4 separate regions of the Homo sapiens genome follow, and regions 1, 2 and 4 are each linked to region 3. Evidence: promoter capture Hi-C in 16 types of primary human blood cells and fetal thymus (Javierre and others, 2016). All regions are on one chromosome and are shown on one strand. The core of a region is centred on a gene start or on the middle of the fragment in contact, and the rest is flanking DNA. Distances in the headings are between cores, read along the strand shown. Region 1 has its middle 25 kb from the start of TASOR. Region 2 overlaps ARHGEF3 (Rho guanine nucleotide exchange factor 3). Region 3 holds the start of SPATA12 (spermatogenesis associated 12). Region 4 has its middle 38 kb from the start of TASOR.

Evidence for each region. The method cuts DNA at HindIII sites, captures the fragments that hold promoters and counts their contacts. A CHiCAGO score of 5 or more calls a contact.
Region 1: a contact is called between a fragment that was not itself captured here and the fragment with the promoter of SPATA12 in region 3, in 3 of 17 cell types (M2 macrophages, monocytes and M0 macrophages). The highest score is 7.6, in M2 macrophages.
Region 2: a fragment that was not itself captured here is called in contact with the fragment with the promoter of SPATA12 in region 3 in 1 of 17 cell types (M1 macrophages); the score reaches 5.8 in M1 macrophages.
Region 4: a contact is called between a fragment that was not itself captured here and the fragment with the promoter of SPATA12 in region 3, in 1 of 17 cell types (M1 macrophages). The highest score is 5.1, in M1 macrophages.

What each region holds. Positions count from the first base shown.
Region 1 is chr3:56,705,505-56,711,340 of GRCh38, forward strand. No RefSeq gene overlaps it. Among named protein-coding and RNA genes, the nearest start is that of TASOR, 25 kb to the left of the region's middle. The HindIII fragment of the contact is 3,351 bases long and covers 1-3,281 here.
Region 2 is chr3:56,760,708-56,766,574 of GRCh38, forward strand. The region is part of intron 2 of ARHGEF3 (Rho guanine nucleotide exchange factor 3); the gene reads right to left. Among named protein-coding and RNA genes, the nearest start is that of ARHGEF3, 38 kb to the right of the region's middle. RefSeq lists an enhancer at 2,245-3,122. The HindIII fragment of the contact is 1,158 bases long and covers 2,866-4,023 here.
Region 3 is chr3:57,057,367-57,063,029 of GRCh38, forward strand. SPATA12 (spermatogenesis associated 12) reads left to right here and starts at 3,298. Exons shown (of 2, transcript NM_181727.2): 1 at 3,298-3,420. It also overlaps a transcript of ARHGEF3 not described here. The HindIII fragment of the contact is 10,199 bases long and covers 2,081-5,663 here.
Region 4 is chr3:56,718,347-56,724,848 of GRCh38, forward strand. No RefSeq gene overlaps it. Among named protein-coding and RNA genes, the nearest start is that of TASOR, 38 kb to the left of the region's middle. The HindIII fragment of the contact is 3,083 bases long and covers 3,327-6,409 here.

The DNA.
Region 1 (5,836 bases), core at 356-2,855, 350 kb before region 3:
CCTTCATGAGGCTGAGAAAATAAAGACTTGGAATTGTAAACTGAATTACACTCAGTGTTCAAACTGAGTGGGGAGAAGTGAGAACTTCAATTAGCCAAGGTCCTGAATAACCAATGGAAAGTCTTCAATAATTAACTGAGCCATGTGACAAATATTCAGGGGGATCATGCTTAGACGGAATAATCCTGGAGTAAAGGCTAATCTATATCTGCCATAGCAAAAATTAAAATAGGCCTTAAAAGTATCAAACTGGGCTGGGTGTGGTGGCTCACGCCTGTAATCCCAGCACTTTGGGAGGCCGAGGCAGGCGGATTACCTGAGGTTAGGAGTTCAAGACCAGCCTGACCAACATGGTGAAACCCTGTCTCTACTAAAAATACAAAAATTAGCTGGGTGTAGTGGCACATGCCAGTAATCCCAGTTATTCGGGAGGCTGAGGCAGGAGAATTGCTTGAGCCCGGGAGACAGAAGTTGCAGTGAGCCAAGATCGTGCCACTGCACTCCAGCCTGGCTGACAGAGTGAGACTCTGCCTCAAAAAAAAAAAAAAAAAAAAAAGAAGGTATCAAAATAATCTATAATTAGCTTACCTGCCTGCCATAACAAAGCCTGATCTTCTCTTCCTCTCTTCTCTTCTCTTCCTTTGTTTCCAGCTATGATTGCACCACTGGAGTATGGTGGTGCAATCATGGCCCACTGCAGCCTCGACCTCCTGTGCTCAAGTGATCCTCCTGGCCTCCCAAAGTGCTGGGATTATAGGCATAAACCACCACGGCTGGACTAATATTCTTCTTCTTTTTTATCAAGGTGCTCAACAAAAGTAAACTGGCCTAATATCCTTAAAATAACAACAACAGCAACAAAATTCAGATGCTTACAATGTCCAGCATCCAATAAAATATTACTAAACATGCCAAGAAGCCAGAAAGTGCTAGCTTATAACCAAGAGAAAATCAATCAATGAAAACAGACAAAAATGATACGGATGCTGGAACTAGCAGATAGAAATATTAAAATAACTATTATTACAGTGTAAACACAGTTAAGTGAAAATATGAACATCATAAGCAAAGAAATGAAACTACAAAAGAGTAACACATGGAATATCCAAAGATTAAAATATAGTATCAGAATGAAAATGGAAGTTTCTCTGGAGGTATTAAGATTAGAAACTGCTAAAACATAAATAGTAAACTTGAGAACCTGGCAATAGAATCTGTTTTTAAAAATGAAGCACAAATGTTAAAAATATTTTTTAACCAAATGAACAGAGCCTCACTGACTTCTGGAAAAATATGGAGTGGTCTAACATATTCATAATTGGAGTCTCATAAGGAAGGATACTACAAAAAAACTATTTTAATAAATATTGGCTTATAGTTTTCAAATTTTATGGAAATCACAGACACAGAAACCCAAGACATTCATTGAATGCCAAGTAGGATAAACATTCTCACACATACAAACCTCACCAAGGCATGTCATAATTAAAATCACTAAAAAACCAATGATTAAGATACAATCTTAAATGCAGGCTCCTCTCAACCCCAAATACACATTACATACAGAAGAACAAAGATAAGAATTATTCACAGGCTTCTGGTAGAAACTGCAAACCAGAAGACAATGAAGTAATATCTTTAAAGTGCTCAGAGAAAAAAATATTGTAGATTAAAATTCTATTTTCAGTGAAAATACTGTTTAAAAATTAAAACAAGATTAAAGATTTTTCAAACAAAAGCCGAGAAGTTTATTGTTAGTATATATCTCCAATATAAAAAATGTTCAAAGAAAGTTCTTCAGGCTGAAATAAAATAATACCAAATGGAAACTTTTTTCTATACAAATGAAATAAGAGTACTAGAAAGGTAAATATAGCCGGGGGCGGTGGCTCATACCTGTAATCCCAGCACTTTGGGAGGCCAAGGTGGGTGGATCACCTGAGGTCAGGAGTTTGAGACCAGCCTGACCAACATGGAGAAACCCTGTCTCTACTAAAAATACAAAATTAGCCGGGCGTGGTGGCACATGCCAGTAATCCCAGCTACTCGGGAAGCTGAGGCAGGAGAATCACTTGAACCTGTGAGGTGGAGGTTGCAGTGAGCCGAGATGGCGCCATTGCACTTCGGCTTGGGCAACAAGAGTGAAACTCCATCTCAAAAAAAAAAAAAAAAAAGAAAAGGTAAATATTGGCACAGATATAACAATTTTTTCTAATTGTTTTATTTCTTTAAAAGATAAATATGTCTATCTATCTCTATTATGTTAAAATAATAATAAAATTTGGAGCTTAAAACATGAGAAGACACATGTGTAACAACACTACCACAGAGAAGGGGGTGAAGGAAATGGAAGTATATTGGTGTAAGATTCTACGTTATACATGAAAGGTATGATACTATTATTATTATTATTATTATTTTTGAGACGGAGTCTCACTCGGTTGCCCAGGCTGGAGTGCAGTGGCGCGATCTCAGCTCACTGCAACCTCTGCCTCCTGGGTTCAAGCAGTTCCCTGCCTCCTGGGTTCAAGCAGTTCCCTGCCTCAGCCTCCGGAGTAGCTGGGATTACAGGTGCCTGCCACCACTTCCGGCTAATGTTTGTATTTTTAGAAGAGACGGGGTTTCACCATATTGTCCAGGTTGCTCTTAAACTCTGGACCTCATGATCCACCCGCCTTGGCCTCCCAAAGTGCTGGCATCACAGGCATAAACTACCGCGCGTGGCCGGTATGATATTATTTGAAGGTAGATGGTGATAATTTAAAGAACAAACACTAAACAAACAAACAAAAAACCAAAAAAGACCAAAGAGAATAACTACTAAAGGGGAGACAAATACAGTATTAGAAAATATTTAATCTGGTCAGGTGCTGTGGCTCACGCCTGTAATCCCAGCACTTTGGGAGGCCGAGGCGGGCAGATCACTTGAGGTCAGGAGTTCGAGACCAGCTGGGCAACATGGCGAAACCCTGTCTCTACTAAAAATATAAAAAATAGCCGGGCGTGGTGGCACGTGCCTGTAATCCCAGCTACTTGGGAGGCAGAGGCATGAGAATTGCTTGAACCCGGGAGGCAGAGGTTCCCTTGCCACTGCACTCCAGCCTGGGTGACAGAACGAGACTTTGTCTCAAAAAAAAAAAAAAAAAAGTAATTAATCCAAAAAAAGTTGGTAAAGAGAGAAAGTGGAATCTAAAACAAATGGAACATACAGAAAACAACTAACAAGATGGCAGACTTAAAATGAATTATATTATTAATTACATTAAACATAAAGGGTATAAAGCTTCCAATTGAAAGAGACTGTCAGGCTAGATTAGAAAAAAAAAAAGCAAGAGGCTGGGCGTGGTGGCTCATGCCTGTAATCCCAGCACTTTGGGAGGCTAAGGTGGGTGGATCACAAGGTCAGGAGACTGAGACCATCCTGGCCAACACGGTGAAACCCTGTCTCTACTAAAAATACAAAAATTAGCTGGGCCTGGTGGCATGTGCCTGTAATCCCAGCAACTCGGAGGCTGAGGCAGGAGAATCTCTTGAGCCAGGGAGTCAGAGGTTGCAGTGAACCAAGATCATGCCACTACACTCCAGCCTGGCGACAGAGCAAGACTCTGTCGCAAAAAAAAAAAAAAAAAAAAAAAAAAAGCAAGACTCATATATATGCTGTCCACAATAAATCTATTTAAATATATATTAGTCCGGGCGTGGTGGCTCAAGCCTGTAATCCCAGCACTTTGGGAGGCCAAGGCAGGCAGATCACTTGAGGTCGGGAGTTCGAGACCAGCCTGGCCAACATGGTAAAACCCCATCTCTACTAAAAATACAAAAAATTAGCTGAGCATGGTGGCAGGTGCCTGTAATCCCAGTTATTTGGGAGGCTGAGGCAGGAGAATCGCTTGAACCCAGGAGGTGGAAGTTGCAGTGAGCTGAGATTGGGCCATTGCACTCCAGCTGGGGTGATAGAGTGAGACTCTGTCTCAAAAAAAAAAGTATACACACACACACACACACACACACACACAGATTAAAATATATAAGATGACAAAATATATACCATATATGCTACAAGTCAAAAGAAAGCTAGAGTGGTTATGCCAATATAAAGAGACTTTATAATGAGGAGTATTACTAGAGCTAAGGGAGAAACATTTCATAACCATGAAGGGGTAATTTCATCAAGAAGATAAAACAGTCCTGAATGTGTTGGTATCCAATAACAAATCTTCAAAATACATATCCCAAAACTGATAGAATTTAAAGGAGAAATAGACAAATCCAAACTTACAGTTGGAAATTTTAGTACTTCTCTAATTAATATAAAAGGTAGACAGAAAATCAAGGCCAGGTGTGGTGGCTCACACCTGTAATCCTAGCTTTTTGGGAGGCTGAGAAAGGAGTTGGAGACCAGCCTGGACAATATAGTGAGACCCTGTCTGAAAAAGCAAACAAATGGCTGGGCTCGGTGGCTCACACCTGTAATCTCAGCACTTTAGGAGGCCGAGGTGGGGGGATCACCTGAGGTCAGGAGTTCAAGACCAGCCTGGCCAACATGGTGAAACCCTGTCTCTATAAAAATACAAAAATTAGCTGGGCGTGATGGTGGGTGCCTGTAATCCCAGCTGCTTGGGAGGCTGAGGCAGGAGAATCACTTGAACCTGGGAGGCAGAGGTTGCAGTGAGCCGAGATCACACCATTGCACTCCAGCCTAGGCGACAGAGTGAGACTCTGTCTCAAAAAAAACAAAAACAAAAACAAACAAACAAAAAAACACCAAGAAATTAGCCAGGCATGGTTCCAGTATTTGCCATTCCTTTTCCACATTGTACCTGGGTCATCTTTTCACTGACATTTTAATTGAGATAACTGCAAAGTTGTAATAAATAATACAAAGAGATCCTGTGAACCCTTTACCTTCTTCCCCCCAGTGGTAACCATTTTTCAGAACTACAGTAGAGCATCACAAGCAGAATACTGACATTGATAAAATCTGACAATCTTATTTAGATGTCCACATTTGAACTTGCACACATTTGTCTGTGTATAACAATGCTGGATTTAAAAAAAAAAAAATCTTACAGGTCCCTGGGGACTCTGCTCATATATATATATATATATATATATATATATATTTAACTGTATTTTATCTTTTTTTTTTTTTTGAGACAGGGTCTCACTCTGTCACCAGGACTGAAGTGTAGTGGCATGATCTTGGCTCACTGCAACGTCTGCCTCCTGGGCTCAAGTGATCCTCCCACCTCAGCCTCCCCAGTAGCTGGAACTACAGGCAGGTGCCACCACACCCAGCAATTTTTTTTTTATATGTTTTTGTAGAGACAGGGTTTTGCCATGTTGCCCAGGCTGATCTTGAACTCCTGAGCTTAAGCAATGCATCCACCTCGGCCTCCCAAAGTTCTGGGATTACAGCGTGAGCCACCTCACCCATCATTATTTGTTAATATTTAAGTGTGTTTTATGGTTCAGATAAATTCTATTTATCTGTCTTCGAATTCCCTGATTCTTTTGTCTGTCATCTTCACTTTACTATAGAGCCCATTCAAAGAAGTATTTTAAAATTTTTCTGCGCTTGTATTTTTAAGTTCTATATTTTCCATTCAGTACATTTTAATATAAGATCTATTTATTTGCTGAGACTTCCTGAAGAGAACTTGTAATGACTTTTGAAGCATTTTTATGATAGCTGGTTTAGAATCCTGTCAGATAATGCCAGTATTTGACTTATTTTTTTGTTGGCATCAATTGATGATCTTTTCTCATTCAAGTTGTAATTTTCCTGGTTTTTGGCATGATGGGTGATTTTTTATTATATTCTAGACATTTTTCT
Region 2 (5,867 bases), core at 2,195-4,694, 300 kb before region 3:
GGGGACTGCATCTACTGTTTACATGCAAGACATGCATTTTGGGGAAGTTTCAATGAGATGGGATCCAGCTCCTGCCTTCTAGGAATATAAATCTACTTAAGGAAAGAGAGAGAATACATTTGCTCAGTTTTAGGAATAATGGCTGATATCTGACCAATCAAATTTCAAATTTACACCTTTAATTAGGCTGGATTAAAAGAAACATTTTTTCTTACTCCACTCAGAAGGGACTGGATGTTGAAAGAAGAATCCCAAGGGAGGAATAAAGAATGCCAACCATTTGTCCAGGTGAGGTTACTGACACCTGTAAGTCTAGCAATTTGACAGGCTGAGATGGGAGGATTACCTGAGGCCAGGAGTTTGAAACCAGCCTGGGCAATGTAGCAAGACCCTGTCTCTATAAAAAAGAATAATAATAAAAGAATACCAAACCAGTGAGTGGTCAGCAGCCGTCTGGCCCCGGGGAAAAGGGGCAGCAGCTGGTATGGTCTGGGGACAGCACATGGGTGATGGGCAGGTGTTCATAACAGCACTGACCACATACCATGAGCTACCCCTGAACCCATCATCAGTACCACTGGGAAAAACTACATGAGAGAACTAGAGTTGAGGGAGGAACAGGCAACTACTACTAGAAGAAAAAAACTCCAAGAGGATGCCTCTTTAGAGAGAAGAACAGCCACATCCCTATCAGCATCCCTGCCACTGTCCATCTACACACCCTCTGCCCTTCTCTTTTTTTTTTATATTCAACATGTGCTGTATTTATAGGTTTGTTTGTTTCTTTCATGTCTATTTCCTTCCAATAGAAGGTAAACTCCTTGAAGGCAGGCATATCTACCTCCTCTATTCACTGATGGATTCATCAGCAACTGATATAGTAAGACCTCAACAACTTTTGCTTAATGATTAAATGTTATGCTTGCTATGTGCTGGGCACTGTGAGGGGAGCTTTAGAGCCCTGCTTATCTGAGAGGTAAGGATTCTGTCCCCTTTACAGACAAGGAAACTTGAGGCTCAGAGAAGGTGACACTTTGCTGAAGGTCACACAGCTAATGAATGGTGCTTTATTATTTAAAACCCGGTGGTAAGGTGACTGTCAGAATGACAATCCAAGTCTGGTCTATTTCAGGCCAACCTCCCTGCCCCAATATTTAACCAATATCCTACCCTAATTGCCCTAGGATAAGATTCATAGTGTAGCGGGGTACATGTGCCCAAATAAATGAACTGTAGTTTACTTCTTGGCCTGTAGAAAGTTTCTCAACCTGGCCACCACAACATTTTGGACTAGAGATTCTTTATTGTGGGAGGCTCTCCTGTGCATTGTAGGATATTTCGCATCATCTTTGCCCTCTAACCACCAGATGCCAGCAGCACAGCCAGCCCAGTTATGACAACCAAAACACCTCCAGACATTGCCAAATGTTCCTGGGGTGAGAAACGCCAGTCCACGGTAACTAGAAGAGGCCCACCTCAAAGTGAGGGACCTGGCCTTGGGCAGGACCACATAAAAACAGAAGCACATACATAGATCTCCCTGGGTGTGGGGATGCTGGGACCGGAGTGAAAAATATTCCAGGACAAGCAAGAGTTTCCATGAGGGAATCTGGCCTAGCAAATGAGTCAAAAACTGCAATCTCATAATTGCTGGCAGCTAAAACAACAATGACCATAAAACAGAGATAATGCAGATTGAGGAAATGGTGCTCAAGTTTATGCCCAAGCTGGATATGTGGAAAAGATGCTGCAGATGCAAAACAGACTGTCTGCCGGGGGTTGGGGGACGGGGGTGGCATGTGCGCTTTACACGTGTCAGAGGAAATGTAAACCCAGCAGGTAGACATGATGGGACAGATCTGATTTGTTAATGCCGCCTGTTCAGCGGAGTCCTCCCTTGCCCTTTTCCAAAAACCATTTTCCACAGCCACAGATAACATGCTCCAATAAAGTATTCAAGCCAAGGAAATTCTCCACACTTACCATGCTAACCATATTGCTATTTTGTAGCAGATGGTTTATTATCAGGGATTGGAGGTTGGGGTGGGACTGTAAGAGGAAAAAACTCTCCTATGTTGCCACTGCGGTGGGTTAAACCAAAATGTACAGCAATAATGGCCAGGACAGGAAAATGTTAACCAACAGCATCCTGGAGGAGTCTCCTATGAGGCTCCATTACAGAAATTAATGTTAAGTGAGAAGTAACACTTCCCAGCTGTGTGGTCTCTGTCACATTTGACCCTCATGCTAATCCTAGGAGAGGATGAGTAATTTGAGTAGCAGAGTGGTAAGTGAGTGGCACAAGTTAAGTGTTGGAATAGGAACTGAGTGCAATTGTTTGACTCCAAAACATGGATTTGGGTGAAGAACATAGGCTTTGGAGTAAAACAGGCATGGCTTCAAGTTGATTCAATGGCTGAGAGACCTTTCATCTCTCTGGGTCTCAGTTTCCTCATCTCTAAAAGGTGCATAATAATAAGTACCTCACAAAGTTGTAGTGAGGATTGGATAAGATAAAGTACACAAGAGGCTTGGCCAAGTCCCTGGCACTCGGTCAGCAGGAATGGTAGTTACCTATCATTGTCATACCACAGACCACACTGCCACTATTAGTGCTTGTTTATACGTGCTTTCATTAATTAGCAAACAGCAGACACATCTTTCTGAACTACCTGGGCCAAATGGCTCCTAGAGGGACTTCCATTAGGATAACTCCTAGGGAAAGAAAAGCCCTCAGCAGGACACTGTTGTTTATAAAAGATCTGGAAACAGCCTAAAATGTTCTACAATAGGGATTAAACAAATTACTCTGCAACAATAAAAGGGAACCTTAAACAGTTGTTAAGAAACATTCTTTTTGAGAAAAGCTTAATGATAAGGAGAGAGCCTCACATGCAGAGTTAAGTGAGAGAAGAAAGATCCCAATTTGAAATACAACAAAATGTTAACAAGGTTTACACCCCTGGATGGTGGGACTACGGATAATTTTTGTTTTCTTTTTAAAATTTTATTTATTTTTAATTTTTTGATTTTATTTTATTTTTTTTTGTAGGGACAGGGCCTTACTATATTGCCCAGGCTAGTCTTGAACTCCTGGCCTCAAGCAATCCTCTTGTTTCAGCCTCACAAAGTGATGGAATTACAGGTGTGAGCCACTGCACCTGGCTGATTTTTATTTTCATCTTTTAATTCTCTACATTTATTTTCCAGACTTTCTTTAATGAAGAAATATTAACTAAGAAGAAACACGGTCAGTTGACGAACATGAAAGACAATGAACACTGAGTTAGAAATGGTGCAATAAACATAAAACCACATATTTACAATCTGATTCAGATTGATGCACATTAAAACCATGGTAAAAGGGCACCCAATTAATTCATAATCAATAAATGTCAAACCTCAAAGACCCAGTACAACAAGAAACCCTTCTGTAGCTTGGAGATATTCTGAGTAGAATGAATGAAAAGCTGAAGAAAATATTTGGCTTAGGTGTAGAGAAAATATTATACAATTTGCATAGTGCAAGTCCAAAATTAGGAAGGCTTCCAGAGGCTTGGGGCAGTAGCTCAACCATCTTCATTGGGCACCATAAAATGGCTTTTGCATGAGAATGTTAATGACAAGATATTCCACAAGCTGAAATGGAAATGATGACTCTCCCTGCCACAGAAGGTGAACAGCAGTGAGGTGGGATGCTCCAACTCAAAAGTCTGGTGACTATTTTTAAATCCTGCCAAACTTCAGGCTTTATTATGACCAAACTTTGACTTTTTGTGATAAGCCTACGGCAGGAGAGGCACTCTGAACACCCTACGGAATCCCAGCTCTGGCACTTACCAGCTGTGTGACCTTGGGTACAATTTTAAACTTTCAGATCTCTCCCTATAAGTGGTGATGAATCCTATCTTGCAGAGTTTTGGAGAAGACGATATGAGGCCATGAACATAAGGTACTTTGTGCAGAACCTGGTTCATCATAGATACTACACTAATGAGTGTTATTACTAAATAAAAAATGACAAGCTTTAAATTACAATAGTCAACAAATTTTTTTTTTTTTTTTTTGAGACAGAGTTTCGCTTTGTTGCCCAGGCTGGAATGAAGTGGCACGATCTCAGCTCACTGCAGCCTCCGCCTCCCGGGTTCGAGCAATTCTCGTGCCTCAGCCTCCTGAGTAGCTGGGATTACAGGCGCCTGCCACCAAGCCTAGCTGATATTTTGTATTTTAGTAGAGACGGGGTTTCACCATCTTGCCCAGACTGGTCTTGAACTCCTGAGCTCAGGCAATCCGCCTGTCTCGGCCTCCCAAAGTGCTAGGATTACAGGCATGAGCCACCGCACCCGGCCCAATATCAACTATTTACAGTGGCTTCCAGGAACAATAAACAGTAATATTCTACCACTCCAGGAATAGTAAAGAACAGCAGAGAATCAGGAGTTCCTCTTGAGATGGACTACAGATAACTTGTCAGCTATACTCTCCAAGCTTGTCCAACTTGCCTTATTTTGTTGTTGTTCTGTTTGTTTTGTTTTAGGCTTTTAGCAGCCTGAAGCCATGGTTTTTAGTTTCTGTTTCCAGTGATAAGCGGAAAAGAGGGATAAGGAAGGGGCTTTACTGGCCCAACCAGAAAGAGAAACTAAGAACCCATGATTATATCCTCTCCCTTGGATACCCATTACAAGACAGTCTGGTTTCTGGTTGCTTTCCCTAACACACATGTGCCTTCCACCCCCAAGCTCATCTCCATGTCAGCCAAATAAGTTAGTTATAGAAAATTTATGACCTTGGACCAAGGGACAAAGTTTGAGGTCCTTGGAGAAGGTAATCATGGTTGCCAGACATGGAAATCAGCACATATGCTTGGGTAATTTCTTACTTATTATTTCTTATATCTAGATGGCATCAGCCATCCCATATTCCCTTCTGAAGCCTGAAACGCTTCCTCCCTTTCATCCTTATCATCTGTGAGCCATTCCAGGCCCAACCCAAATCCCTCCACCCTTGCTAAGCAGCCTTCCTTGACGACCCCTCAGGCCATTGCTAAACTCTCTCTGTAGTATATTTTATCATAGAAGATTTTCTAATCTTATTCATTTTTATTTGGTTGCAAAGGTAATACATATTAAAAAATTCAAGTATAACAGAAATATATAATGAAAAAATCAATAGTTCCAACTCATTTATTTTCTATTCATTTGTAATTCTTACATACTGGGGAAAAAAGGAGGAGAACACAAAATAAACAAAAGAACTGCAAAAGTATAATTGTATTCCCAAGAGACAACAGAAAAAAAAAAGAATTTGACGTTCCTGGTTTTTTTTCCCTATCCATATACTAATATGGGTGTATATTATCAACTGGGACAGTGGTTTTGAACTTTCCCCCAATTTTCTTCCTCTACTTGCTAATATACCTTAGACAACTTTTATCAAGTAGAACTTTTACAATCTCTAGAGCAGGACTACCTACCTTTCTGTATTGACTCTCTCCCCATTAAGTCTAGGCAGAATAAATAACACAGTAGATCCAAATAACATTAATGGAGACCACTAATTTATCATATGTTCATGCTGCATCTGGGTTGAATAAAATAACTCCCTGATCTAAGGGCCAGAGGATGGAGCAATGAGAGGCAGTGGTTGCTAGAAACCCTTCTTTGCCATAGCAATACTTCCTGGAGGGGCTACAACTGGGGGAGGGGACACATATTCTCCTTCAGCCCAGTTGAAGAAGATGGGCAGGGCCCCATCACTGGCAGCCACTGCCAGGCTCTGCAGAGAGCTTAGGAGCAGCAATGGCTGCCTTTTCTAGTCATAACGGTGATAATAATAGCAAGTACTAATTTTTGAGCACATCCTAAGTA
Region 3 (5,663 bases), core at 2,048-4,547:
TCCCAAAATGCTGGGATTAGCTGTGAGCCACCGCGCCCGTCCAGGTTTCTGCATTTCTGTTCATGATTTCTCAGCACTTATCCCAACTATAATTTTACTTGCATTCATGTGACTATTTGATTAGTATCTGTTTCCTGAGTGAGTCTTGTCTGTTGACTCTGGTAGGGTAGAGTCTGAGCCGGTCTTAGCCACCAAGACTTCCTCAGCACCTAGCACAGGGCCTGGCCCAGGGTAAGTCACACCCACACCCACACCCCCACACAAGCTTTTTTAAAATGTAAAAGTTTAAATACAAACGGAGAAAGAATATAATGTACCCTCTGTGCCACACATCATACAATTTGAGTGGTCAACTCATTCCTAATATTATTTCTTCTACACTCAACCCAGTGAAGCGAACTCCAGCCATCGTATCACTTGATACATACTTGAGTGATATAGAGTAAGTGAATGAATGACTGCCTCCTACTATAACAGACAAACTGGGGGGCTTAATTCTTGCTCTCACTGATTTTACTGTCCATACTAGACAGACAAGGGAGAGTTGAGGAGGGGCCACTTAAATGAGTCAGTCAGTTTTGCCACCAAGTTAGCAACTCTGATAAAATTTCAGATGAAACTAAAACTATTGTCCAAAGTGAATTTCCTTTTCCTCATATTGACTGGGCTTTAACCCTTCAGTCGTGTCCTTGCCATGGCCACATTCACCAAAAGCCGACTGTAAAGGAAGGGAGGGTTACCTATTTCCCACAATCTCTTTCAATTAAAAGTCCTGAAAGAACAAGTTTCTTTCCATAAAATAAGCCATGTGGCCTTTTACACAGAAAAATAAGGAATGCCTGGAAATTAGTATTACCACTTGCTCCCTCAAGGGCCAATCTACATTACACCTATTTTCTCTATTTTCACATTTATGAGAACTTGTTCCAAATCAGTCTGGTCTTTTTGAAATGCCATTACAGTTTTACATACATTGGACAAAACTGTCATAGACTGTGATGCTCTCGGCGTCCAGCAAAATGAGTGATACTTGTACCCAATGGGTTTGTTTCATGTCACCTGCCCTTCAAGGTCCCAAAAGTGTGCATAAAAATAACAACTTGAAATGCTCACATGCCAGGAAACAACAGGTGCTGGAGAGGATGTGGAGAAATAGGAAAACTTTTACACTGTTGGTGGGACTGTAAACTAGTTCAACCATTGTGGAAGTCGGTGTAGCGATTCCTCAGGGATCTAGAACTAGAAATACCATTTGACCCAGCCATCCCACTACTGGGTATATACCCAAAGGATTATAAATCATGCTGCTATAAAGACACATGCACACGTATGTTTATTGCGGCACTATTCACAATAGCAAAGACTTGGAACCAACCCAATGTCCAACAATGATAGACTGGATTAAGAAAATGTGGCACATATACACCATGGAATACTATGCAGCCATAAAAAATGATGAGTTCATGTCCTTTGTAGGGACATGGATGAAGCTGGAAACTATCATTCTCAGCAAACTATCGCAAGGACAAGAAACCAAACACCGCATGTTCTCACTCATAGGTGGGAATTGAACAATGAGAACACATGGACGTAAGAAGGGGAACATCACACACCAGGGACTGTTGTGGGGTGGGGGGAGGGGGGAGGGATAGCATTAGGAGATATACCTAATGTAAATGATGAGTTAATGGGTGCAGCACGCCAACATGGCACATGTATAGATATGTAACAAACCTGCACGTTGTGCACATGTACCCTAAAACTTAAAGTATAATAATAATAAAAAAAAGAAATGCTGACATGCAATCATACTTAACTATGCCTTTTTTTACTATAAAATATATTCATTACTTGTATTTTCTAAATTTTTTCATAAGCACAGGGAAAAAATTTTAAGCCTTGTCTTTAAGCCTAGAGCAAGGGTGTCCAATTTTTTGGCTTCTCTGGGACACACTGGAAGAAGAATTGTCTTGGGCCACACATAAAATACACTAACACTAACAATAGCTGATGAACTAAAAAAAAAACTCATAATGTTTTTTAAAAGTTTATGAATTTGTATTGGGCCACATGTTAGACAAGCTTGGCCTAAAGATAAGTCACATTTTGGAGTCTGTTCTTCCCCGTGTGTGTATGAGTTGGGGGTGGGGGGAGGGAGGGTGGTGAGCAGCATGATTACAAGTCCAGGCTCCTTAATCAGTGATAGGTTCAAATCTGGCTCTGCTATCTGCCACCCACATAGCCTCAGGCAAGTTGCTTCCCTCCATAAGCACATTTCCTCTTCTGCAAAGTAGGACTGAAATGACTGCCTGATGGGGTGACAATGAGGCTTTAAAAAGACGAAGAGGGGCTGGGTATGGTGGCTCACGCCTGTAATCACAGCACTTTGGGAGGCCAAGTTGGGCAGATCACCTAAGGTCCAGAGTTCAAGACCAGCCTGACAAACATGGAGAAACCCCATCTCTACTAAAAATACAAAAGTAGCCAGGCATGGTGGCACATGCCTGTAATCCCAGCTACTCGGGAGGCTGAGGCAGGAGAATCGCTTGAACCTGGGAAGCAGAGGTTGCAGTCAGCGGAGATCACGCCATTGCACTCCAGCCTGGGCAACAAGAGTGAAACTCTATCTCAAAAATAAAAATAAAAATAAAAATAAATAGATGAAGTGAGGGACAAGGCATGGTGGCTCACACCTGTAATCCCAGCACTTTGGGAGGCCAAGGCGGGAGGATCACTTGAGCCTAGGAGTTCAAGAGCTGACTGGACAACATAGCGAGACCCCATCTCTATAAAAAATTTTAAAATTAGCTGGGTGTGTGACATGTACCTACAGTCCCTGTGGGAGGATCTCTTGAGCCTGGGAGGTCAAGGCTGCAGGGAGCCGTGATTGTGCCACGGCACTCCAGCCTGGGCGACAGAGCTGAGATTCTGTCTCAAAAAAAAAAAAAAAAGGAACTTAGCCCAGGGCCCGTATGCAGCAAGCACTTAAATGGTATAGCTGCTGCTACTCGGGTTATCAAAAAGGAGCTGCAAAAAAGTCTAGGTTCTGCAGGAGAGCCCTTCCAAGAACCTGCCCAGGAAGTGGGTACACCTGTCCCCACCCCCACAGTAGGAGTCAGAATCAGGGACTGGAAGGGATGGGGTTCCTGGAGGAAGCTCACAGCAGCAGCAGCCTCTGAGTCACAACTCAGCCCCTCCCTGGCATATCCCTTTGTTTGCTGGGAGTTGAGCTGTGACTCACAAAGGCTCTGGTCCCGGGCTGGGCCCATGTGACCCAGGGTCCTGACTGCCCTGCCCACAGTCACTGAGAAAATTCTTTGTGCAGGCTCACCTTCCCCTCATCTCCCCCACTCTTCCTGATCCTGCAGCGTCAGATCCCAGCCTGCAGTATCAGACCTCAAAAGGAGCCTCTGGTGTCTTGTGAGTAGTTTACCTGCCGCCCCACCCCCACCCCGAAACACACACACACACATGGGCACACACCACCACCACTTCTTTTTTGGCCTGTGCCTGTTTTTTCACTGTGCTACATTTTGACATAAGTTCAATCTATAAAGAAAAAGTCCAGGAGAGTCCAACTCCTCTTATACTCTTTTTTATTGTGGTAAAATATAATATAAAACATACCACTTTAACCATTTTTAAGTGTACAGTTCAGTGACATCTAGCACATTCACCATATTGTACAACTCTTACCATTATCCATTTCCAGAACTTTGTTGTCATTCTAAACAGAAACTGTGTACCCATTCAGCGGTAACTCCTCCTGCACCTGCCCCTCTCCCAGCCCCTACTGTATTAATACTTCTCTCTCTAAACTTGCTATTCCAGGTACCCCCTGTAAGTGTCCTTTTGTGACTGACTTTTCTCATGTAGCATAATACTTTCATGGATCAGCATGTTGTAGCATGTGTCAAAAATTCCTTTATTTATTATTATTTTTTTTTTTGCAATGGGGTCTGGCCCTGTCATCCAGGCAGGAGTACAGTGGCACGATCATAACTCACTGCAGCCTCAAACTCCTGGGCTCAAGAGATCCTCCTATCTTGGCCTCCCAAAGTGCCAGCATTACAGGTGTGAGCCATCTCACTCAACCAGAAATTCCTTCCTTTTTAAGGCTAAATAATATTCCATTGTATGTACATACCACATTTTGTTTATCCATTCATCTGTCAATAGACATTTGTATTATTTTTACCTTTTGGCTATTGTGAATAACGCTGCTGGGAACATGGGAATGCAAGTATCTGTTTGGATCTCTGCTTTCATTTCTTTGGGTATATACCCAGATTTGGAATTGCTGGACTATATGATACCTCTATGTTTAACTCCTGTTACACTTTTAGGATTCTGGCAGCCACCACAGCTAACTCTCAGTGAGCAGTCTCTCATCCTGTGTTACTCACCACTCTAAGAATTTTTATTAACTCATTTAGTCCTGAGGTGTGGTATAATTATTTTCATCCCCATTTTACAGACAAAGAACCTGAGGTGAGAGAGGTCCTCCTTCTCAGATGGCAGCATCAGTATCTGAGCCCGCATAGGTTCAGATTTAAATTGTTTCTCCGGTTGTGACAAAAACAAGGTGCTGCTCTGCCTACAAGCATTTTCTGCCCTGAATAATGCCTTTGGGAGGGTTTCCACATCTTTCCTTGCTCTGGACTAAGGATCAAGTAAAAAAAGAGAGTGGGGCAGGGATGCTCCACTGGATTGGATCTGTCTAGACTCACTGCTAGCAGTGAGAAATCCAACTCCATCTAGATGGGTGAGAAGGGGGATTTGTAGGAAGATCCCTGGAGCAGCTCAGTCATGTGACTAGATCCAAAGGCAATGTGCCCAACCCTCCCCTCGCAGCTCCACACTCTGGGCCTGTCCTCACTGCTCTAGCGCTGGGTGAGTGCCTTCAAGCACCTTCTCTGCCACTTCTGAGTGGGTTAGGATGACCCTGAGGAAGCCCACAGCCTGGCAAGGGTGGCTTGTGTCTAGCTCCAGACCGGCTACCACAGCCGAGGGGAGGGGAACCATGATAGGCCCAGCCAGGACCACAGCCCCCACTCGGGCTCAGGCTAGGCTCAGGAGCACGGCGGCGGGGGCGGGGGGTGCTCAGGAGCATGGGGAAGCCTTTCAGAGAAGAGGGAAGGAAGCAGGGCAAGTGCCCAGCACAGATGCTGCATAATCTACAATAGCAAAAGATTGGAAGCTGCCCAGTAGTACTGAACAAAACAAGGTTAAATAAAGCTGCTCTAGCCACTCAGCAAAACACTATGTAGCTGTTTAACAAGCAGGAATATCTGGTGGGAATGACAGGACTCGCTGTTTCTCTGTCTACACACATGCACACACACACACACACAACAAACATGCACACACACATACATACACATATGTAATAATTCACAGGTAAGAAAAATATAGGCAAGAATTATATCATAATAGAAGAATCAAATGGCTTTTAATCTGTTTACCAAACTTTTCTTTACGGGTTCAACAAATTATTGTCTGTACCAGGCAAGGCACTGGGGACATGACAGGGAACACAATAGAAGAAAAATCCCTGCCCTCATGGAATTTACATTCTAGTGGGGGAGGCAGATGACAAGATAAATAAGCAAAATACACCTTATATTGGATAACGATAGTGTAAGGAGAAAAAGCAATGAAGG
Region 4 (6,502 bases), core at 3,618-6,117, 340 kb before region 3:
GAAAAGGCTTCTGAAGTCAGACAACGCCTTTCAAAGTCTTATACCAATCTCTGGAGTTGGGCAACATGGCTTCTCCCCTTTCTAGGTCCCGTGGCAGCCATCTTGCTGTTACTCGCCTTTGGGCCCTGTATTTTTAACCTTCTTGTCAAATTTGTTTTCTCTAGAATCGAGGCCATCAAGCTACGGATGGTCTTACAAATGGAACCCCAAATGAGTTCAACTAACAACTTCTACCGAGGACCCCTGGACCGACCCGCTGGCACTTTCCCTGGCCTAGAGACCTCTCCTCTGAAGGACACTACAACTGCAGGGCCCCTTCTTTGCCCCTGTCCAGCAGGAAGTAGCTAGAGCGGTCATCGGCCAAATTCCCAACAGCAGTTGGGGTGTCCTGTTTAGAGGGGGGATTGAGAGGTGACAGCGTGCTGGCAGTCCTCACAGCCGTTGCTCTCTCTCGGCGCCTCCTCTGCCTGGGCTCCCACTTTGGCGGCACTTGAGGAGCCCTTCAGCCCACCGCTGCACTGTGGGAGCCCCTTTCTGGGCTGGCCAAGGCCAGTGCTGGCTCCCTCAGCTTGCAGGGAGGTGTGGAGGGAGAGGCGCGAGCGGGAACCTGGGCTGCGCGAGGCACTTGTGGGCCCCCTGGAGTTCCGGGTGGGCGTGGGCTTGGCTGGCCCGCACTCGGAGCAGCCGGCCGGCCCTGCCGGCCCGGGCAATGAGGGGCTTAGCACCCGGGCCAGCGGCTGCGGAGGGTGTACTGGGTCTCCCAGCAGTGCCAGCCTGCCGGCACTGCACTTGATTTCTCACCAGGCTGTAGCTGCCTTCCTGCAGGGCAGGGCTCCGGACCTGCAGCCCGCCATGCCTGAGCCTCCCACCCCCTCCATGGGCTCCTGTGCAGCCCCAGCCTCCCCGATGAGCACCACCCCCTGCTCCACGGCGCCCAGTCCCATTGACCACCCAATTCAGATTCACGTCTCCTGAATCTGGTGGAGACGTGGAGAACCTTTATGTCTAGCTCAGGGATTGTAAATACACCAATCAGCACCCTGTGTCTAACTCACGGTCTGTGAATGCACCAATCGACACTCTATCTAGCTACTCTGGTGGGGCCTTGGAGAACCTTTATGTCTAGCTCAGGGATTGTAAATACACCAATCGGCACTCTGTATCTAGCTCAAGGTTTGTAAACACACCAGTCAGCACCCTGTGTCTAGCTCAGGGTTTGTGAGTGCACCAATCGACACTCTGTATCTGGCTACTCTGGTGGGGCCTTGGAGAACCTTTGTGTGGACACTCTGTATCTAGTTAATCTAGTGGGGATGTGGAGAACCTGTGTATCTAGCTCAGGGATTGTAAACGCACCAATCAGCGCCCTGTCAAAACAGACCACTCGGCTCTACCAATCAGCAGGATGTGGGTGGGGCCAGATAAGAGAATAAAAGCAGGCTGCCCGAGCCAGCGGTGGCAACCCGCTCGGGTCCCCTTCCACACTGTGGAAGCTTTGTTCTTTCACTCTTTGCAATAAATCTTGCTGCTGCTTACTCTTTGGGTCCACACGCTTTTATGAGCTGTAACACTCACCGCGAAGGTCTGCAGCTTCACTCCTGAGCCCAGCGAGACCACGAGCCCACCGGGAGGAACGAACAACTCCAGACGCGCTGCCTTAAGAGCTGTAACACTCACCGTGAAGGTCTGCAGCTTCACTCCTGAGCCAGCGAGACCAGGAACCCACCAGAAGGAAGGAACTCCGAACATATCCGAACATCAGAAGGAACAAACTCCAGATGCACCACCTTAAGAGCTGTAACACTCACCACGAGGGTCCGCGGCTTCATTCTTGAAGTCAGCGAGACCAAGAACCCACCAATTCCAGACACAATGCCTCTCTGATACTCTTTTCATTTTAAAATCCTCTTTTCTCCATGTTTCACTTTCAATAATTTTTATTGCTGTCTTTTTCACTAGTATTTTCTTCTGCAATGTCTAAACTATTCTTAATCCCATCCAGTGTATTTTTTTTTTTCTTTTTGAGACAGAGTTTTGCTCTGTCAGCCAGGCTGGAGTGCAGTAGCACAGTCTTGGCTCACTGCAACCTCCGTTTCCCAGGCTCAAGCAATTCTCCTGCATCAGCCTTCCCAGTAGCTGGGATTACAGGCATGTGCCACCATGCCCAGCTAATTTTTGTATTTTTAGTAGAGACGGGGTTTCACCATGTTGGCCAGGATGGTCTCGAACTCCTGACCTCAGTTAACCTACCTGCCTCGGCCTCCCAAAGTTTTGGGATTACAGGCTTGAGCCACCGCACCTGGCCATATTTTTCATCTCATTGATGGTAATTTTCATCTGTAGAAATTATATTTGGGTCTTTTTTCATCTCTTTCGTGTTTCTACTTAACATTAAAAATATGGAATACAGCTATAACAACTGTTTTAACATCCTTGTTGGCTAATTCTAACATTTCTGTCAGGTCTAAGTCAGTTTGGATTGGTTTTTATGTTTTTCTTCTATGGGTTGTGTTTTCCTGCTTTGCATGTCTTGTAGTCTTTCATTAGATGGCAGGCACTGTGAATTTTACCCTATTCAGTGCTGGATAATTTTGTATTCCCATAAATATTGTTGAGCTTTGCTCCAGGATGCAGTTAGGTTACTTGGAAACAATTTGATACTATTTGGTCTTTAAGATTTATTAGGTTGGACCAGAGCAGTGTTTACTCTAGGACTAATTATTCTCCACTACTGAAACTAGACCCTTCTGAGTACTTTACCCAATGCCCTGTGAATTATATTCTTCTAGTCTGGTTTGTGAGAATAGGCACTATTCCAAGCACTATGTGTGTTCTAATTTTTTTAGGGTATTTCCCCTCAGCCTTGGGTATTTTCTTCACATGTATGCACTTTTCAATACTCTGCTTAATACCTGAGGGGGACTCTCTACAGTAATCTCTGAGGTTGTCTCTCCATGGACTGCTCTCCTCTTTGTTCTGTAAACTGTAGCTGCCTTGGTCTCCCTAAACTCTCAGCTCCAAAACTTCCACTCAGGAAGTTCACTGGAGTCTACCTGGGATCCCCCTCTGATATAGTTTGGATGTCTGTCCCTTCCAAATCTCATGTTGAACTGTAATCCCCAATGTTGGAGGTGGGGCCTAGTGGGAGGTGTTTGGACCATGAGGGCAGATTCCTCATGAATGTCTTGGTGTCATCCTCACAGTAATGAGTTATCTGAGTTCACACAAGATCTGATTGTTTAAGAGTCTGGAACTTCCTCCTTGCTCTCTCACTCTCTCCTGACATGTGACACGCTGGCTCCCCTTCACCTTCTGTCATGATTGGAAGCTTCTTGAGGCCCTTACCAGAAGCAGAGGGCAGCACTATGCTTCGTGTACAGCCTGCAGAACCATGAGTCAAATAAACTTCTTTTCTTCATAAATTAACCAGGCTAGGTATTCCTTTATAGCAATGCAAATGGACACCCTCCCTGTGCTGTGTCCTGAAATCCCTTTCAAGACTGGAAGTTGGAGCAATTGCAGGGCTCACCTCATTTATACCTCTTCTCTTAGGGTCACTGTCCTTCATTGCCTGATGTCCAGTGTCTTCAAAGCTATAGCTTTATAGGTTTTTTCATCTTTTTGTTTTTATTTCAGTTGCAAAGGCAAATCTGGTGCCTGTTACTCCATCATGGCTAGAACTAATTACTTTTCTTTTTTTTTTGAGATGGAGTCTCGCTCTGTTGCCCAGGCTGGAGTGCAGTGGTGCAATCTTGGCTCTCTGCAACCTCCGCCTCCCGGGTTCAAGAGATCCTCCTGCTTCAGCCTCCCAAGTAGCTGGGACTACAGGCATGCACCATCATACCTAGCTAATTTTTGTATTTTTAGTAGAGACGGGGTTTCACTATGTTGGCCAGGCTGGTCTTAAACTCCTGACCTCAGGTGATCCTCCCAACTTGGCCTCCTAAAGTGCTGGGATTACAGGCATGAGCCACTGCGGCCGCCTTTTTTTTTTTTTTTTTTTTTTAAAGACAGTGTCTTGCTCTGTCACCCAGGCTGCAGTGCAGTGGCTTGATTTTGGCTAACTGCAAACTCTGCCTCTTGGGCTCAAGTGATCCTCCCATAGTGCTGGGATTACAGGCATGAGCTACCACAACCGACCTAGAACTAATTACTTTTAAAGAAGTTTAAATAGTAAGAAAAGCCTCTCCTATTTTCTGACATAGTTGCATTTTTAGTGCTCTTCATTCTGTTGTTTGGATCCATATGTCCACAGGGTATCATTCTGTTTCTCTTCAAAGAAAGTCCTTTTAACATTTCTTGTAGTGGAGGTCTGCTGGTGATGAATTCTTTTAGCTTTCATATGCCTGAAAAAGTATTTTGCCTTTGTTTTTGAAATACGCTTTCATTTATCTTCCCAGAAAACAATCCATCACGATAACAAAAAATAGAAACACAAAACCCATCTTTGATGATTCCAAAGATCTGTTTATCCTTGGACCACAACATTTGAAAATGGAAAGCAAATGGTGAAATAACATAAATGATGACAATAGTAGACATATATGTTTACTATATCAGGAACCAGTATCTATCAGGGGCTCAGCAGCATACTCAAATATCACATATTCAAATTAGGAGGTTTTAATAAAGGGACAGTACACAAAGTTTGGGCAGTGTGTAGGGACAATACAATATCCTGGGGCTAGTGACAGTGGGGTTGTTACCATACTAGGCTAGAAGGGTTACAGGAATTCAGAGAGGACTCCTTGAGAGAAGCTGTGACCTCACGATAAGAGATGCAACCAGCCCAAGGAAATCCTCCAGGTGGGAGCTGGAGGAATGAATACTCTAAACTCACTCTTCTCCCTCTCACTGATATAATGACAGGATTTTCACTGGGCCAAACCAAACCAGAAACGTCAGGCAGGAGAGCCCATGATGAAGTACACACAGAAGAGTGAATCAGGGTGCATAGTGGATTTGGAGAAGTAAACAAAAATACGGGGCATAGCCCCATTCTAAGGTTTTTTTTTTTTTTTTTTTTGAGACGGAGTCTCGCTCTGTCGCCAGGCCGGAGTGCAGTGGTGTGATCTCGGCTCACTGCAACCTCCACCTCCCAGGTTCAAGCAATTCTCCTGCCTCAGCCTCCTGAGTAGCTGGGACTATGGGCACGCCACCACACCCAGCTAATTTTTTGTATTTTAAGTAGAAATGGAGTCTCACCATGTCAGCCAGGATGGTCTCGATCTCTTGACTTCGTGATCCGCCCGCCTCAGCCTCCCAAAGTGCTGGGATTACAGGTGGGATTACAGGCATGAGCCACCATGCCTGGCCCATTCTAAGTACTTTGGATGTATTACTACATTGAATCCTCCCCCAAATCCTATTAATTACCATTATTATTCCCAGATAAACAATGAAAGATGAAGGAAAATTCAACTGAACTGTGACATCTTCTGAGAGTTCAGAGAAGACACTGCCTTCATTAAATAAAAATAAGGGTGCTTTAAGTATAGAAAGAATGATAGAAAAACTTATAGTAGAAAAAAAAACTGATGGCAACCCTCTCCTCAAATTAATAGAAGGATCTGAAGACAAAGGTGAGGAAATCTCCTTGAGAGTTGAACAAAATATAAATAAATAAAAAGTAAGAATAAAGAGATTAAGACTATTTGAAAATCAATCCAGAAGTTAAGGCATAAAATCCAGAAGGTTCATCTCTCTTTCTGGAATTCCTGAAAGAGAAAATAGAAAATTGTGGGAATGAAAATATGTAAGAAAAAAAAATACAAGAAAAAATTCCAAATTATCTGGATTGAAAAGTCTCTCCAGGTATATAGTACAACGAATGAAAAAGACCCAGGCCAAGGCCACACTTTTGAGAAATTTCACATGTACGGTTTATTTTTTTTTATTTTTTGAGACAGAGTCTCACTGTGTTACCCAGGCTGGAATGCAGTGGTGCAATCTGTGCTCACTGCAACCTCCACCTCCCAAGTTCAAGTGATTCTCGTGCCTCAGCCTCCTGAGTATCTGGGATTACAGGCGCCTGCCACCATGCCCAGCTAATTTTTCATATTTTTAATAGAGACGGGGTTTCACCATGTTGGCCAGACTGATCTTCAACTCCTGGTCTCAAGTGATCTGCCCTCTTCGGCCTCCCAAAGTGCTGGGATTACAGGCATAAGGCACCATGCCTGGGCAACATGTACAAATTTAAAAGTGATTATTAAATAACAATGAAAACTACTAGCTCTTAGTATCTTTTTAAAAAGTGATTTCACATACAGTCTCACATTTAAATGGGCTTGAAGGGTCCAGTGTCCCTGGCAACAGAGAATAAAACACTTGTAGGATGTCATTTTCAAACCTTTCACAGATGAGAGAGCACAGTTCATTAATACCTAGGTATGTTTGCATGTGGACAAGCTTTGGAATGCATGTCCAGTTTCCTAGGCTAAGTGATTAGCTCTTAAAGATACAGTGCATGACTTCTAATTCCTTGCTATTCCCTCACGTC